Regions from separate parts of the Homo sapiens genome. Here regions 1, 3, 4 and 5 are each linked to region 2. The links are contacts of gene promoters, found by promoter capture Hi-C in blood cells and fetal thymus (Javierre and others, 2016). All regions are on one chromosome and are shown on one strand. Each heading gives the region's core, a stretch centred on a gene start or on the middle of the fragment in contact. The rest is flanking DNA. Distances are from core to core; before and after follow the strand shown. Region 1 has its middle 33 kb from the start of ARHGAP24. Region 2 holds the start of ARHGAP24 (Rho GTPase activating protein 24). Region 3 has its middle 64 kb from the start of ARHGAP24. Region 4 overlaps ARHGAP24 (Rho GTPase activating protein 24). Region 5 overlaps ARHGAP24 (Rho GTPase activating protein 24).

Evidence for each region. Contacts are between HindIII fragments. The CHiCAGO score rates a contact against its expected background, and 5 or more counts as called.
Region 1: a fragment that was not itself captured here is called in contact with the fragment with the promoter of ARHGAP24 in region 2 in 1 of 17 cell types (total B cells); the score reaches 5.2 in total B cells.
Region 3: a contact is called between a fragment that was not itself captured here and the fragment with the promoter of ARHGAP24 in region 2, in 1 of 17 cell types (total B cells). The highest score is 5.1, in total B cells.
Region 4: a contact is called between a fragment that was not itself captured here and the fragment with the promoter of ARHGAP24 in region 2, in 2 of 17 cell types (total B cells and naive B cells). The highest score is 13.2, in total B cells.
Region 5: a fragment that was not itself captured here is called in contact with the fragment with the promoter of ARHGAP24 in region 2 in 1 of 17 cell types (total B cells); the score reaches 9.3 in total B cells.

What each region holds. Positions count from the first base shown.
Region 1 is chr4:85,440,581-85,443,280 of GRCh38, forward strand. No RefSeq gene overlaps it. Among named protein-coding and RNA genes, the nearest start is that of ARHGAP24, 33 kb to the right of the region's middle. The HindIII fragment of the contact is 4,329 bases long and covers 1-2,700 here.
Region 2 is chr4:85,473,674-85,476,511 of GRCh38, forward strand. It overlaps ARHGAP24 (Rho GTPase activating protein 24), which reads left to right and starts at 1,477. Exons shown (of 10, transcript NM_001025616.3): 1 at 1,477-1,886. The HindIII fragment of the contact is 5,990 bases long and covers 767-2,838 here.
Region 3 is chr4:85,409,879-85,412,578 of GRCh38, forward strand. No RefSeq gene overlaps it. Among named protein-coding and RNA genes, the nearest start is that of ARHGAP24, 64 kb to the right of the region's middle. The HindIII fragment of the contact is 2,680 bases long and covers 1-2,629 here.
Region 4 is chr4:85,527,835-85,530,534 of GRCh38, forward strand. All of the region lies in intron 1 of ARHGAP24 (Rho GTPase activating protein 24), which reads left to right. Among named protein-coding and RNA genes, the nearest start is that of ARHGAP24, 54 kb to the left of the region's middle. The HindIII fragment of the contact is 3,597 bases long and covers 1-2,700 here.
Region 5 is chr4:85,509,603-85,512,354 of GRCh38, forward strand. The region is part of intron 1 of ARHGAP24 (Rho GTPase activating protein 24); the gene reads left to right. Among named protein-coding and RNA genes, the nearest start is that of ARHGAP24, 36 kb to the left of the region's middle. The HindIII fragment of the contact is 2,625 bases long and covers 174-2,752 here.

The DNA of each region.
Region 1 (2,700 bases), core at 132-2,631, 33 kb before region 2:
ATAAGTTACTATCTCGCATAGTTTCAGGTAATAAGTGCTATGAAGACAAATAAGGCAAAGCAAAGAAGCAGACATGTACACTAATATCCTAAAACAATTATTTTGGCATTCTCCTGCCTCTCAAGCCAATATACATACTGAACATGATGATATCAATTAAAAAGTTTTCTCATGTATTTGTAACCAGTGAAGGCATTAACCCCCGAGAAGATATAGTCTTATAGCACCTAAAAACTTTTTAAGTTGCCTTAGACTGACATTTGCTGCAATTCTGAAGCATAGAAGTCATGAGGAACATGCAGTCATATTCTCTAAGATACTGTTTTCCAAGTCCAGCTGACACAGAGAGCAAAAATGAGTTAACATGGAGGTGGAGATTTTCATCCAGTCTTCCCACTATCCTTTCTATAAGGGTGAAAATGACTTTTAAGAAAGCTACTTAGCCAAAGCTAAAAGCATAGTTGTTTTGTCTGTATTTGGGAGGCCTTAGTTTACAACAGAATGGCAGCAACTGTGTTTGGCAAAGTAGTAGAGAAAGAAAGGCCATCTTTCATCTCGATTGTGAGGATATATCACTTGGAAGGCCATCTTGGTACTCCTTGCAGGATCCCACATCAATCTTTTGAGTCACATGTGGACTGAGATCTCAATGTGCTACCCAGCCGAGAGAAGATGGAATGGCCTTAAAACCTAAGGCAAATCAACAGACAACTAAAAAACTGAGATGATTTCTATAGCCATGTCCTTGATAGAAAAGAAAGTGGAGCAATAAAAACATTTTGAGTTGCAGTTTTTTTTTACTCTGTACTTTTGCATTATTAAAGTAAAATTATTCTATAGCAAATCACTTACAAGGAACTTCCTGTGCAATTATTAACATTTATTTTCTAAAACTGTAAAAATTCACAGACTCAGCATTGTGAGACCAGGCTCACTTATTCCAACAAATGGAAGATGCCACTCTTGACAGTCACAACGTGGCAATGATCAAATAAGGTTTAATTTTAATTGTGTTGCATCATAAAAGAGAGAGAGAGTTAAACATATATAGACTTGTAAATAATTGTCTGATTTTTTTGACATCTTAAATAATTTTACAAATGTATCAATTTAATTTGCTAATATAAGTTTTTTTTTAAAGAATATAGCTGTATTAATCCTCTCCCAGAAAGGATCATTTAAAAGGCATTCCTTGAATGCATTGAGTCTTTTTTCTGTTTGACAAGCAAGACCACTTTAGCTTGCAGAGAGGCATGATGAGTAGTGGTTACCAGCCTAGGTTGGTGCTATATTGCGGGTTTGAAACCAATCCACCTCTTAACAACAGTGAGACCATGGACAAGTTTCTTAATCTCTCTGTGCTTCATTCTTTCCATATGCAAGATGCGGATAAAAATATCTACCTATGGGTTCTATAATAGGGTTGTTATAAAAATAAAAAGAATTAGACAAAATATACCTAGAAAACTGCTAAACAAGTTATTACTATGACAACTAATCATTATTATTAGCTTTATCACTCAAGTGGTATGACAGAGTGAACTTCTCCTGAAATCATAGCACTCAACAGTATAAAGAAAAGAAATCCAGAGACAAATAGAAAGAAATCTAGTATACTATTAGCATTAATGAATAAAGACAATTTAGAGAGGGAATTTCATAAATCTTTGAGTGTTATTAAACATGGGGAATAATCGCAAAGGGGCCAAAAGACCAATTATGTTAGCATGTGACGTTGGATGGCTCTTTGGGAGAAACAAGCACACTTATTTATTCTCAGCTTTCTCCTTGAGGTACAAGTAAATGACAATTATATTTTGCACATACTGAATTCAGTATGTGAAAAAATATCTGCTTGTGTTTGGCTTCAAATTGACTTCTCCAATACCCTTAATCTTTATAATTTAGTAGCACTATTTAATTAATATTATTCCTTTGGAGACCTCCATTTTCTATTCTCTGTTTCTATTTCTAAATGTAGATGCAAATGTAGTTCTCTAAAGCCACATCTATTCAGATTCAAAGAGAAGGGGCTCAAAATTATTAAGTGAACACCTACTCTGATCAAGTTTGTTGCATACACTTTACATAAATTAATTTTATTTAAGTATTACAATAGCACCTGGACATGCCTATTATCATTTTTGGAATATTGGAAAATTAAGTAGCTTACTCAAGATCGCTCAAATAGAAGACGATGCTCATTCTGTTGATTGAACCAAGTTTGTTGATTGTAAATGCAGGGCAACTTTAATTCAACAATTGAATTCAAAAAGCACAGATTTTTAGACTCGGAAACTCTCAGTTTGTTACTTACTGTGTTTCTTTGGCAAGTCACTTGAACTTTCTATCTTTACTTTCATATTCTATTAACTGAAACAAAGACCAGCCACCCACCTAGTTTAAAGGATTGTTATGGGGATTAAATGAGGCAATAAATAGAAAATGCTTCAGAAACAGACAGAGTTGGTTTCAAATCCCTACTTTACCACTTAGGAAATTGGCCAAGTTATCTAAACTCTCTGTACCTACGTGTCTTGATCTGCAAAACTGGATGAATTGTGCCTGCTTTGAAAGGTATAGAGTCAATAATGTATGTTTCAAACCCCAACACTAGACCACAAACACTTAACTGTAGTGGTGGTTGGTATATTTCAATAATCTAAAACATGTAATACATGTAATTCCAGGGGCCCAATC
Region 2 (2,838 bases), core at 227-2,726:
AACATGTAAGGCCATGTGGGTTGATGAAGGTAATTTATTCCCACCAATTGGAAAATAAGCTACATTACTTCTAGCTTAGGAATTCCATACATATTTTTAAAATGAAATATGAAACGCAATTTTTTCCCCACACAAATTAATTTGATTCATTAAAGGGCTGAGAATTCTCCCACCAGAAAATCAAGTTTATAGTAGGACCTCAGCATGGGATGGGGTAGATTCGTTTCTCCAAGAACTTGGAGAAAGAGGACAAAAAGGAAAAACATATCAGTGTCCACTCAGCCTTTTATTTTTGGTGTTTCTAAAACTAAACATTTGCTCTTCTTCCATATCCCTCTCTCACTGGAGATCCCTAGTGAGGACACCCCCATTCTGTGTCTTAAGGATATCTGGTGATGATTTCTAAAAGAGAGTTTCTTTTATTAGTAGTAGCAGTAGTAATTGTTCGAGACGGGGGTGTCACTCCGTCACCTAGGCTGGAGTGCGCTGGCACAATTATAGCTCACTGCAGCCTTGACCTCCTGGGCTCAAGGGATTTTCCCGCTTCAGCCTCCTGAGTAGCTGGGACTACAGACATACGCCGCCACGCCCAACTTTTTTTTTATTTTTTTAATTTTTTTTTTATAGAGACAGGAGTCTCATTATGTTGCCAATTTTGGTCTGAAACCCCTGGGCTCAAGCGATCCTCCTGCCTCAGCCTTCCAAAGTGCTAGGATTGCATGACTGATCCACTGTAAGTGGGTTTCTAAAACAGAGATCTTTACAAAGCTTTTTGAAATAATTTGACTCAGCATGCCAGGTAACCAGAACTGTAAGATCACAATTTGAAACAGACATTGTGGTGATGGTGGGAAGAGACGGCCTGCATCAAAACAATGTTTACTAGTTTGTCCTTTTGTCCCATATTGTGTAACTCCGAGAGTTCTTACACCACCGTAAGAAAGTAATTATACTTTGAATTTCTCTAAGGCTCTAGTTAGAGAGCATCCATCTAAATGTGCATTTCCAGGAATATTGCTTTAATGGCCCAGGTAATTCTAATTGGAGAAATAAAATGTTAGCGAGACAGAGTTGGTAGAAGCAAGTAAAACCGGTGTATGGGGTTTGGCCAATGAAATGCAGAGCTCCTTGAGGGCAGGAGACATGTATTCACCAACCTTCTCGCGCCCACAGCCCCAGATCTGTGGCCAACAAGTATCTATGATGCACTTGAAAGGAACGAGCGATGCCAGATGCGGAGGAACCAGGCAGGGCGCATTCTGTCAGTGGCGCCAGGCGGTGTAGCTCCAGCTCTCAGATAACCCAGGCTTTGGGAGGGCGGGGCTCCTGCCGGCCTCCCCTGTAGTGCGGCTCGAGTCCTGTGAAGCTACCAGTTGCCAAATGAAATCTGAAACCTCGAGCTGTGTCTGAGGGTTGGCCCCACTCAGTTGTTCCAGCCTCTTGTACTGTATATTTACACATTCACACACAATCACCCTTTCTAACTTCTGGGACTCTTTGCGCAACTGCTAGGATTTCTCAAGTGCATGTGGCAACACAGCCCAGCTCCGGGTGGAAACCAGCAGGGCTCTGGAGGGGCTCGGAGACCAGGGGAGCTGTCAAGGCTGCGGCGGGGACCAGAGAGGAGCCTGGCGGGGGTGGCTGGGTGGCTGGGGGAATCCCCCCAACTTCCCATCGCAGGCGCAGCTCTCTCGGCCGCCTATTTCCTCCGAAACCCGCGCTGCGGAGCAGCCCAGTGCATAGAGTTCAACACTTCCCCTTGTTGTGGAAAGTAAAGGAGCCTCACTACCACCTTTTTTTCTTTGCGTTTTCTTACTGCTGGTCCTGGGAGCCTTTTCCTTCGGAGCAGCAGCCCTGTCCGGCATCTGTCTTGAGCTCCCAGCAAGGTAGGTGATGCGGTCGCGAGGAAGTGCGCGGAGCTACCGCGGGAAGGACGGACGCGGCTGCCTGCGCCAGGGGAGGGGGCTGCGGGGGGCGGGGAGGGGGCTGCGGGGGGCGGGGAGGGGGCTGCGGGGGGCGGGGAGGGGGCTGCGGGGGGCGGGGAGGGGGCTGCGGGGGGCGGGGAGGGATCGCAGGAATCCCGTGCTGATGTAGCCTGTCTGTGTTTGTGTGTGTGTGTGCGCGCGCGCGCATGTTTGTGCCGGGAGACAGCAAGCTGGTAGTATGTCTTTCTGGCTTTAAAAATAGATGGAATTAATAAAAACCCTTTGTACAATTCAATTTCCTCTCTTGGTATCCATCCTCCCCTTCCCCTTGTTTGTTTCCTCTAGTATCTTATAGGAGTTCCCTATGTAACAGGCGCACAAAGATAGGTTTTAATAATAAGCATATATATTTGCAAAAATATATATTTTATATGTATAAAATATGTTTTAAAATATTTATAAATATATTACATATTAGAAATATATATTATAAAATATATACATATATTTGTAAACACAAAACGTTAGGGAATCTTTGGTGAATTTGAAGCCACTCAAAAGATTTTGTCCAAATGTTTTTAAAAATAACATTTAATGATAAACATGTAATATGGTCTCGTTTTTAGAAAATACTTAAGACTACATTTATTTTATACGTACCCAAATAGAAGGGAGACAATGTTACTCTGAATTCCTTAGATAGATTTTCAGCATCAACCAGTAATAGGGAGCCCAGACTTCTTTGTAGACTATATCTCGTTTAATTCATTTGAATTAAACAAGTAATTTCTCCAAGTAATTTCTGTTTCCAGCACATTTTATGTTACTCTTTTTTTAACCTTCCACGGCATCATTGTTTCATCTCTTTCTAAAAAGGAAATAAATAAATCGTGCTGAGTATTTGGAATATAAA
Region 3 (2,700 bases), core at 40-2,539, 64 kb before region 2:
TGCCATATCTGTTTCACTCATTGCTATGGTTTGAAGGTACATGTGTACCTTGTTTTATTGCACTTCACTTTATTGCACTTCACAGATGTTGCATTTTTTCCTTTTCTTTTTTCCTTTGCTTTTTGTACAAACCGAAGGTTTGTAGCAACCCTGCATCAAGCAAGTCTTTTGGCGCTATTTTTTCATTTCATCAGCATGGGCTCACTTTGTGTCTCTGTGTCAGATGATCGTTAGCATTTTTAGCAATAAAGTATTTTAAAATTAAGGTATGTACATTGCTTTTTAGACATAATGCTGTTGCACACTTAATAGACTACAGTATAGTATAAACTAACTTCTATATGCACTGGGAAATAAAAAAATTTTTGAGACTCACTTTATTGACACATTGTCTTTATTGAGAATGAAGAGGTGGTCTGAACTGAACCTGCCATATCTCCAGTGCATGTCTGTATCTTCTCCAAAATTCAGGTGTTGCAACTTAATGGCCAATGTGATTGTATTTGTGATTTGTATTAAGAGGTAGAGCCTTTAAGAGGTGATTAAGTTATGAGGGCTCCTTCCCTTGAAACCGAGATGAAGGCCCTTATAAAAGGCTTCGCACAGTGTTGGGTTAGCTTGCTTTTTGGTTTTCCACCAAGTGAGGACACGGCATTCCATCCCTCCAGAGGATGCAGTAATGAAGCACCATACTGGAAGTGGAGAGTGGCCCTCTTCACACAACCAAACCTGCCAGCACTCTGATTGTGGACTTCCCAGCCTCCAGAATAATAAATTATCCAATAATTACAGGTATTTTGTTGTAGCAGCATAGACTAAAATACTCATTACTCTAGCTCTAGTGACTAGCACATAGTAGACACTTAAGAATAATTTGTTGACCAAACAGTTCTCCTCCTACTTAATTATCTTTAATGTCTGAGGCAACTGATCAACCAACACTTCTGAAAAACTTAGTGAGAGTGTGTGGGCTCTGTCCTTCAATCTTAAGAGAGTCATTTAATACCTCTATGCCTAGATTTGCCTATCTGATAAAATGGAGAAGATACTACTACCTAACCCATCTTTGATTATGAGACTGAATGAGTTAATACATACAAAATGCTTAGAACAATGCCAAACAGTAAGAGCTCCATAGATGTAAGCCATGTAGTTGTTGGTATGTGCCAGACACATTCTTGGATGTTATCTGTTCTAGTCCTTTACCCTATTAGATTATTTTCATAGATGAGAAAACTAGATTAGTGACATTTTTAGTGACTTGTCCAAGTCACCAGTACTTGTAAATGTGGGGCTGGATTCAAACCCAGGTATCTGAGGATGTGAGGCTGGATTCAAACCCAGTTATCTGAGGATGTGAGGCTGGATTCAAACCCAGGTATCTGAGGAGCAAGCAGCCCAGTGCCTTTGACAATACATAGCTGCTCTCTCTCCCTTTCTCTCTAGTTCTCTTGCCACCTTGTTTGTATGAAAAGAATTGTGTTGTTTCCTAAACATTGACAGAATGTTATCAGGACTTGTCTTCCTATAGAACATAGGCCTACTCTACCATTTACGAATTGCTATCTGATCATCACTGCCATGGTATGCAATGAAAGAAAGAAAATTCATACTCATTCCTTTAAACCAGAGTTTCTCCAGTTGCAACAATATTGACATTTTGGGCTGGATAATTTTGTCATGGGCGCCGTCGAGTGCATGGCAGGATGTTTAACAGCATTCTTGCCTTCTACTCACAAGATGCCATTAGCACCACCTGGCCTGTGTGACAACCAAACATGTCTCCAGATATTGCCAAACGTCTCTTGGGAAGCAAAATCAGCCATGATTGAAATCCTGCTTTCACCAGTTCTATCTCATTCTGTCTCCCCCTTTTCAATCACCTCTACTTTGCTGTCTACTGTTGCCTCTTCTCTAGCTTCCCATTCAATCCCAGCACAGACAGAGGCAGTGGTCCCTTTCAAAACATATTTCTTCCTGGTGCCTGAATTCTACCACTAGAAGTTAAAGCGTAGCTTTGAAAAACCTTAAAACATGCAAATCTCTGGAAGAAATTACATGTAATCAATTATTAAATTATAATGATTTAGTCTTATTGAATCAGTTTTTTATTGAAAGTAGATGATAGGATAAACATGGGACACAATTATTTATATATATATTTTTCCAACAGCACTTACTGCAATGTTTTATGTATAGTACATACTTAATAATAGTTGTCGAATTAATGAATAGATGAATAAGTGAGTATTTTAAAGAATTATTAGAAGTGAAGACACTAAGAATAAACTGTTTTTCAAAAAGAAGTGAAGGAAAGCATTGTTAAAAATAATTTTATTTTTTTAAACAAAAGAGGACATCTAGATATGTTCAAATGAGCTAAAAATATATAAACCAGTGGAGAGGAAGATACTATAGATACAGAAAACAGTGATGTACTTGAAGGAGTCAGGTGCCAGAGAAAATGTAACAGCAGGATAAAGTTCCCAATCGGAAGAGTTATCTTTGCAAAGATGTATTTTCGGTGCTTTTCCTCTTTCAGAATAAAAATTATCTGCATTTTGCAAATAAATGCAGATTCCAGAAGAAATGTCACGCATAATTTTCTCTATTTTATTTATGTGTTTTAAGCTTGGAATGGCTTATTTGTTCTCTTACACATGCCACTGATAATTAAGGACTATTCAGCATCAGTCGTTG
Region 4 (2,700 bases), core at 2-2,501, 54 kb after region 2:
TTGATCCAAGAAGTAGGTATGGATTTTTCTGCTACTCAGCATTGATAACAAACAATTAATTTCTTCCTCTGATTTCCTGAGACATATATTCAACGTTTGATTAGTACCTTTTATGTGTCAGGAACATAAGTGAATCTGGAATGAATTTCTCAAACACTGACAAAGGAGACAGGCATATAAACAATAGATTACAAAATGACAGGGTGAGTGCTACAATAGCAGTGTTATGTTTGTGCTGCATTGTAAAGACAATGAATAGAACACCTAACCCTGCGAGAGCTGAAGAATAGGACTGAAATAGAAAGGGAAGAGAATCACTGAAAGAAAGGACCAGTCCATACAAAGAAGAATGGAAAAAGACAGAGATTGGGTCAGATTGTAGCAGACACTGTATTCCACACCACATCAGTTGGGTTTATACATGATAATAATACATTGTGCTTAATGTAGGGCTGCATAGAAGGCAAGAAAAAAATATTAGCTATGATTGCTAAAAATATTATTGCTTATTTTTAATTGTAATAGCCCAATAAGAAATCAGGAGCCACTGGAGTTTTTTAAGGAGAAAAATTATGAGTAGGTATGTACACACAAAAAATTTCTGGTGTTAGTGTACAATATGGATTGGAGGGAGAAAGATGGGGATGGAAGATCAGATGGCAATTGTAACAACAATATAGGCAAGATGTAATTCGGTTTTGATGGCAGTTGCGAGAATTAACCTTTCTGTATCTCAGTTTCCTCATCTGTAAAATATGGGGATTAGAATTGCATCTAATTTATTGGGTTGACATGAGGATTAAGTGAGTTAATATTTTTCAAAGCTCTTAACAAACTATGTGTTTGTTAAGTAAAGTTCAAACAGATTAATATTGCGTGTCTGTCTTTTGCATATACATGAATCCTAGATTATTATAATTGGACATGTACTATCTCCACGTCATGTCCTCTGCATAGGCAGTAACAAAGAACTACTTGTTTCTGTTGATTATAATTATGATAATATTTCATTGATGCTTGTCTATTCAATACTATCAAAGATAGAGGTCAGTGTTGGTGTCTCAGACAAATACATAATATCATCTTGACTACTCTTGAGCTGATCATATTTCATTGATGCTTGTCTATTCAATACTATCAAAGATAGAGGTCAGTATTGGGATCTGAGACAAATACGTAATATCATCTTGACTACTCCTGAGCTGATCATGTTCAGTGGTAGCAAAATTCTTCTCATGTATATCCAGTAGTAGTCACTGTGGTACATCAGAGTACAAATATTTTGAAGGTATGTGCACATATAGTAAAAACTAATTTTTTTGTTGTCATCAAGGATTCTATTGAACTTGAATTTCTTCCCAGAAAGAGTCTATGACTATTCTAGGCTCACCAGTCATAAATCAAATTATAGCTTTTGACAAGTACATTGTGATAATGTTGTGGCATGCTACTCCTAAGTCTGATTAAATAAAGCACCTGTTCTTTATAAATCAATTTTGCTAAATTTTGGACTATGAAAATACTGGCTTAGCTTGGTCTGACATTCTGATTTTCAGTGTAAGATTATTGCTGATTAAGAATAAAATATTGCTGAAACCTGTCGGAGAACCTACTGAAGTTCAACTGGCCAGAAATTCTTTGCATCAGCCTTCCTTTGGCTTTTCAACACCATTTAGACATTCTGAATTAAGGTTTCTCAATCTCAGCATTGCTGATATTTTTGGCAGATAATTCTTTGTTGTTGGAACCAAACTGTTGGGTATTGTAGGATGTCAAGCATCATCCTTAGCCTCTATTCACTAGATGCCAGTAGAAACTCCCTTCCCAATGTGACAACCAAAAGTATCTCCAGATATTGCCAAATGTCCTCTGTGGAGTGGGAGATGTGACAAAATCACTCCTAATTGAACCATTATTCTAAATGATGATTAGCAGACAATAAAAATATGTCATTCTCCTGAGTTGTGTATCCCATTTGAATGGTCAGCAAAACCTGATGTGACATCTGGTTGACTATGAGGGTTATTCCTTTATTTCTGTATTCAACCATGCAAATATTGTACTATTTTAAAAAAAACTCTTTTCATTTTATTTCTTTTGAGAGTTGGTTAAGTCCATTCCTTTTATATTCATAATGTCAGATACTAGAGTGATATTCAATTAATATTTGTCAGATTTATGAATATATGGAGAAAATGGAGCTCACTCTCAGGTACATATATCTATGGTGAAAGTATTACTTTTCAGTTCTATTACAAAACAGATGTACTCTTAATTAAAAAAAATTGAAGTCCCATATACTCCTCCAAATCTAGTCAACAAGTAAATATTTTCAAGCTACTTTTAATTTTTGTTTTAAAAGTAGGAGACTAGTGGGTATAAAATAGTAAAAGAGCATTAGATATGAAACCTATGAGTTCACAAATATATACTTCACTTTCCAAATGAATGAGAATTACGATAAACTGTTAATTCATCCACACAGAGTGGCACTACCTTATCATCAGAACTTCCCGTATCTGGATATTTGGTCTTGACTGTTTCACTGCGATATTCAGCTATTGCAAGAATATTTTCTTCACCTCTTCCACTGGTTCAAAGGGGTTCTTACTTTGGAGGTCTTCTAGAACACCATGCCTCAGTGCTCTCTACTGTATGTTTTTAATACCCTCATTTTTCAGGACAAAGGTATTTGGAAAG
Region 5 (2,752 bases), core at 236-2,735, 36 kb after region 2:
TGTTTTGAAATGCTCATCTGCTATAACCTGGTAGCATGTTTATTGTTAAAGCACAATAAAGATCTGGTCTGGGATCTGTTCTTTTAATGCTCCTGACTTTCATTTTACTTAATTATGATGCTTTTCCTGGTTTGATTATATTGAAGAATGATTTCACTTTGTTTGAACCTGGAAGCTTTTCATGTGATGTTTAATTATGTTCACATTTATATTTATAATATGTAATATATACTTATAAATGGAATATATTACATTTAAAATGCCCCTTTTGTATTATCGGATGCTGTGATTCTGTTTATTACTAGGAAGTCCTGGTCCTAATAAATACAATATTTGAACAGCACAAAGATAGAGTGGTGGCAAGATGCGCCTCCATATGGATGCCCCTTGATCTTTACTATTCAGAAATAGTTCTCAAAGATCAAGCCAAAGCACACTTGGCTCTTGGCACTAAAGAACTTGGACTTTGAGAGTGATCAAGTATTGCATGTGATGTGGCGGCTCTTAAAAGGGACTCTTCAAAATAAAGTGACAGGAATATACACTGCTCTTTTGTTTCAGAGAAAAGACTTTGCCAAGATGAGAAAAATAAAAAATGAGAGTTTTATAAGAGTATTTTCCTCCATTGGGTTTTTGACCAGATACTTATCATTGTGAAAGTGCCATGGAATGTGTCTTATTTCATTCTGTGTCAGCTGGCACTAAGACCCTGAGGAAAATATTTGCTATGCATGCCAATGAACAGAAAGACCAAATTTCGCACCTTCACACATATTCAGCATATTTTCCCTCCTAATGTACCACTCCCCTTTCTTTCACTCCTTCTCTTTCCCTCTCTCTCCCTTTCTTTTTCTCCCTCTCTCTACCCGTTTGCCTTCTTCCCTTCTTTTTCCTTCTCTCCCTCCCCTCTCCCCCTCACTCTCCCAACCCCTTTCCCTCTCTTGCCTTCCTTTTTATCTCTTTCCTTCTCCTTCTTCCCTCCCCTCTCTCCCCCTTGTCTTCCCCGTCTTCCCCTCCCTCCCCTGTCCTTCCCAGGTTCTCCAGGAGCCTCCTCTCCCCTCTCCAGGCTCATTTTTTTTCCACTGCTCTATGTACCCTGCTTTTCCTCTTATGGTCATTTATTTCCTTGTCACCTTCATGGCAATAAGTCTTTAATACATTCCTCCTCCTCCTCCTCCCCCTCCTCTAGCCCCTCCCCTTCCTCCTCCTCCTCCTCCTCCTTCTCTCTCGCTCTCTCTCTCTTCCTCTGAGTCTCTATTCTCATCGCCATTACTTTCTTTGGAAAGGAGAACCCATGCCTCTGCTCTGGTAAAATGCTGGCTGCATAGTAACGGTATATTATGTAAACTTGTCTTGTTTACCCACCCTAGTATTAGTCTGTTTCTTCTAGAGGAGTTCTTATAGTATGGTAATTCAAATAAAGCCATCTAACGGCCACCCATAAAATACAAAGAATCCTTTTTGAAAATGAAAATTGCTTCAGAATAAATATTGGTTATTCCAGTAATTCAAAAGGATAGAATTAAGCTATTTTAGAAAACATTTTAAAATAATTACAAAAATTGTGCTTACCACAACTGAGGCAGAAAATAAGAATTCTGATTTTTTTAAAATCTGTCTTCTGGAGATCTTTATGTAACTTGGAATCTAATAAAATTGAAAAATTATATCTCTTCTATGTGTAATTAAATGTTTCTTTAACGATCTAGGAAAGACTTTCAACTGATGTGCCCTCCGAAGGCTTTGGAGTTAGGCACTGTATTAGTTTTCTAGGGTTGCTATAACGAAGTACCACAAACTGGGTGGTTTTAAACAAAAGAAATTCACTGTCTTTATTTTATTTTATTTTATTATTTTATTTTATTATTTTATTTTATTGAGATGGAATTTTGTTCTTGTTGCCCAGCTGGAGTGCAATGGTGTGATCTCGACTCACTGCAACCTCTTCCTCACGGGTTCAAACAATTTTCCTGCCTCAGCCTCCCGAGTAGCTGGGATTACAGGCATGCGCCACTATGCCTGGCTAATTTTTTTGTATTTTTAGTAGAGACAGGGTTTCTCCACATTGGTCAGGTTGGTCTCAGTCTCCCGACCTCAGGTGATCCACCCGCCTCGGCCTCCCAAAGTGCTGGGATTACAGGCGTGAGCCAACCCGCCTGGCCGAAATTCACTGTCTAATGGTTTTGGAGGTTAGAAGTGCAGAATCAAAGTGTCAGGAGGGCCACGCTCCCTCTGAAGCCTGTGGGGGAATCCTTCCTTTCCTCTTCCTAGTTTCTGGTGGTTTGCTGGAAATCCTTGGCTTGCAGCTGCATAACTCTAATCTCTGCCTTCATCATAACATGGTGCTCTCCCTGTGGGTCTCACTGTCATCACCCAGCCTTCTGCTTATGAGGACATCAGTCATGTTGCACTAGAGGCCATTCTACTCCCTTATGGCATCCGTTTAACTATGTTTGCCACAAACCTGTTTCCCAAATAAGGCCATATTCTGAGGTAGTGGGGGTCAGGACTTCAATGTATCTTTTGAGGGCACACAATTCAACCCATGTCCCATTCTGAGTTCAAGTCTCATTTCCTCCACGAAGTAACTATGTGACCTTTGTCAAATTACTTAGCCTCACTGAGCCTCAACTGTAACGTAGGTAATTCTAGTTCTCACCTCATACTGCTGTGAGGATTAAATGAGATAATGCTTAGTAAAATGCCTGGCACATAGTAAGTACAAGTATAGATTAGCCATTTGTTTAGTCAC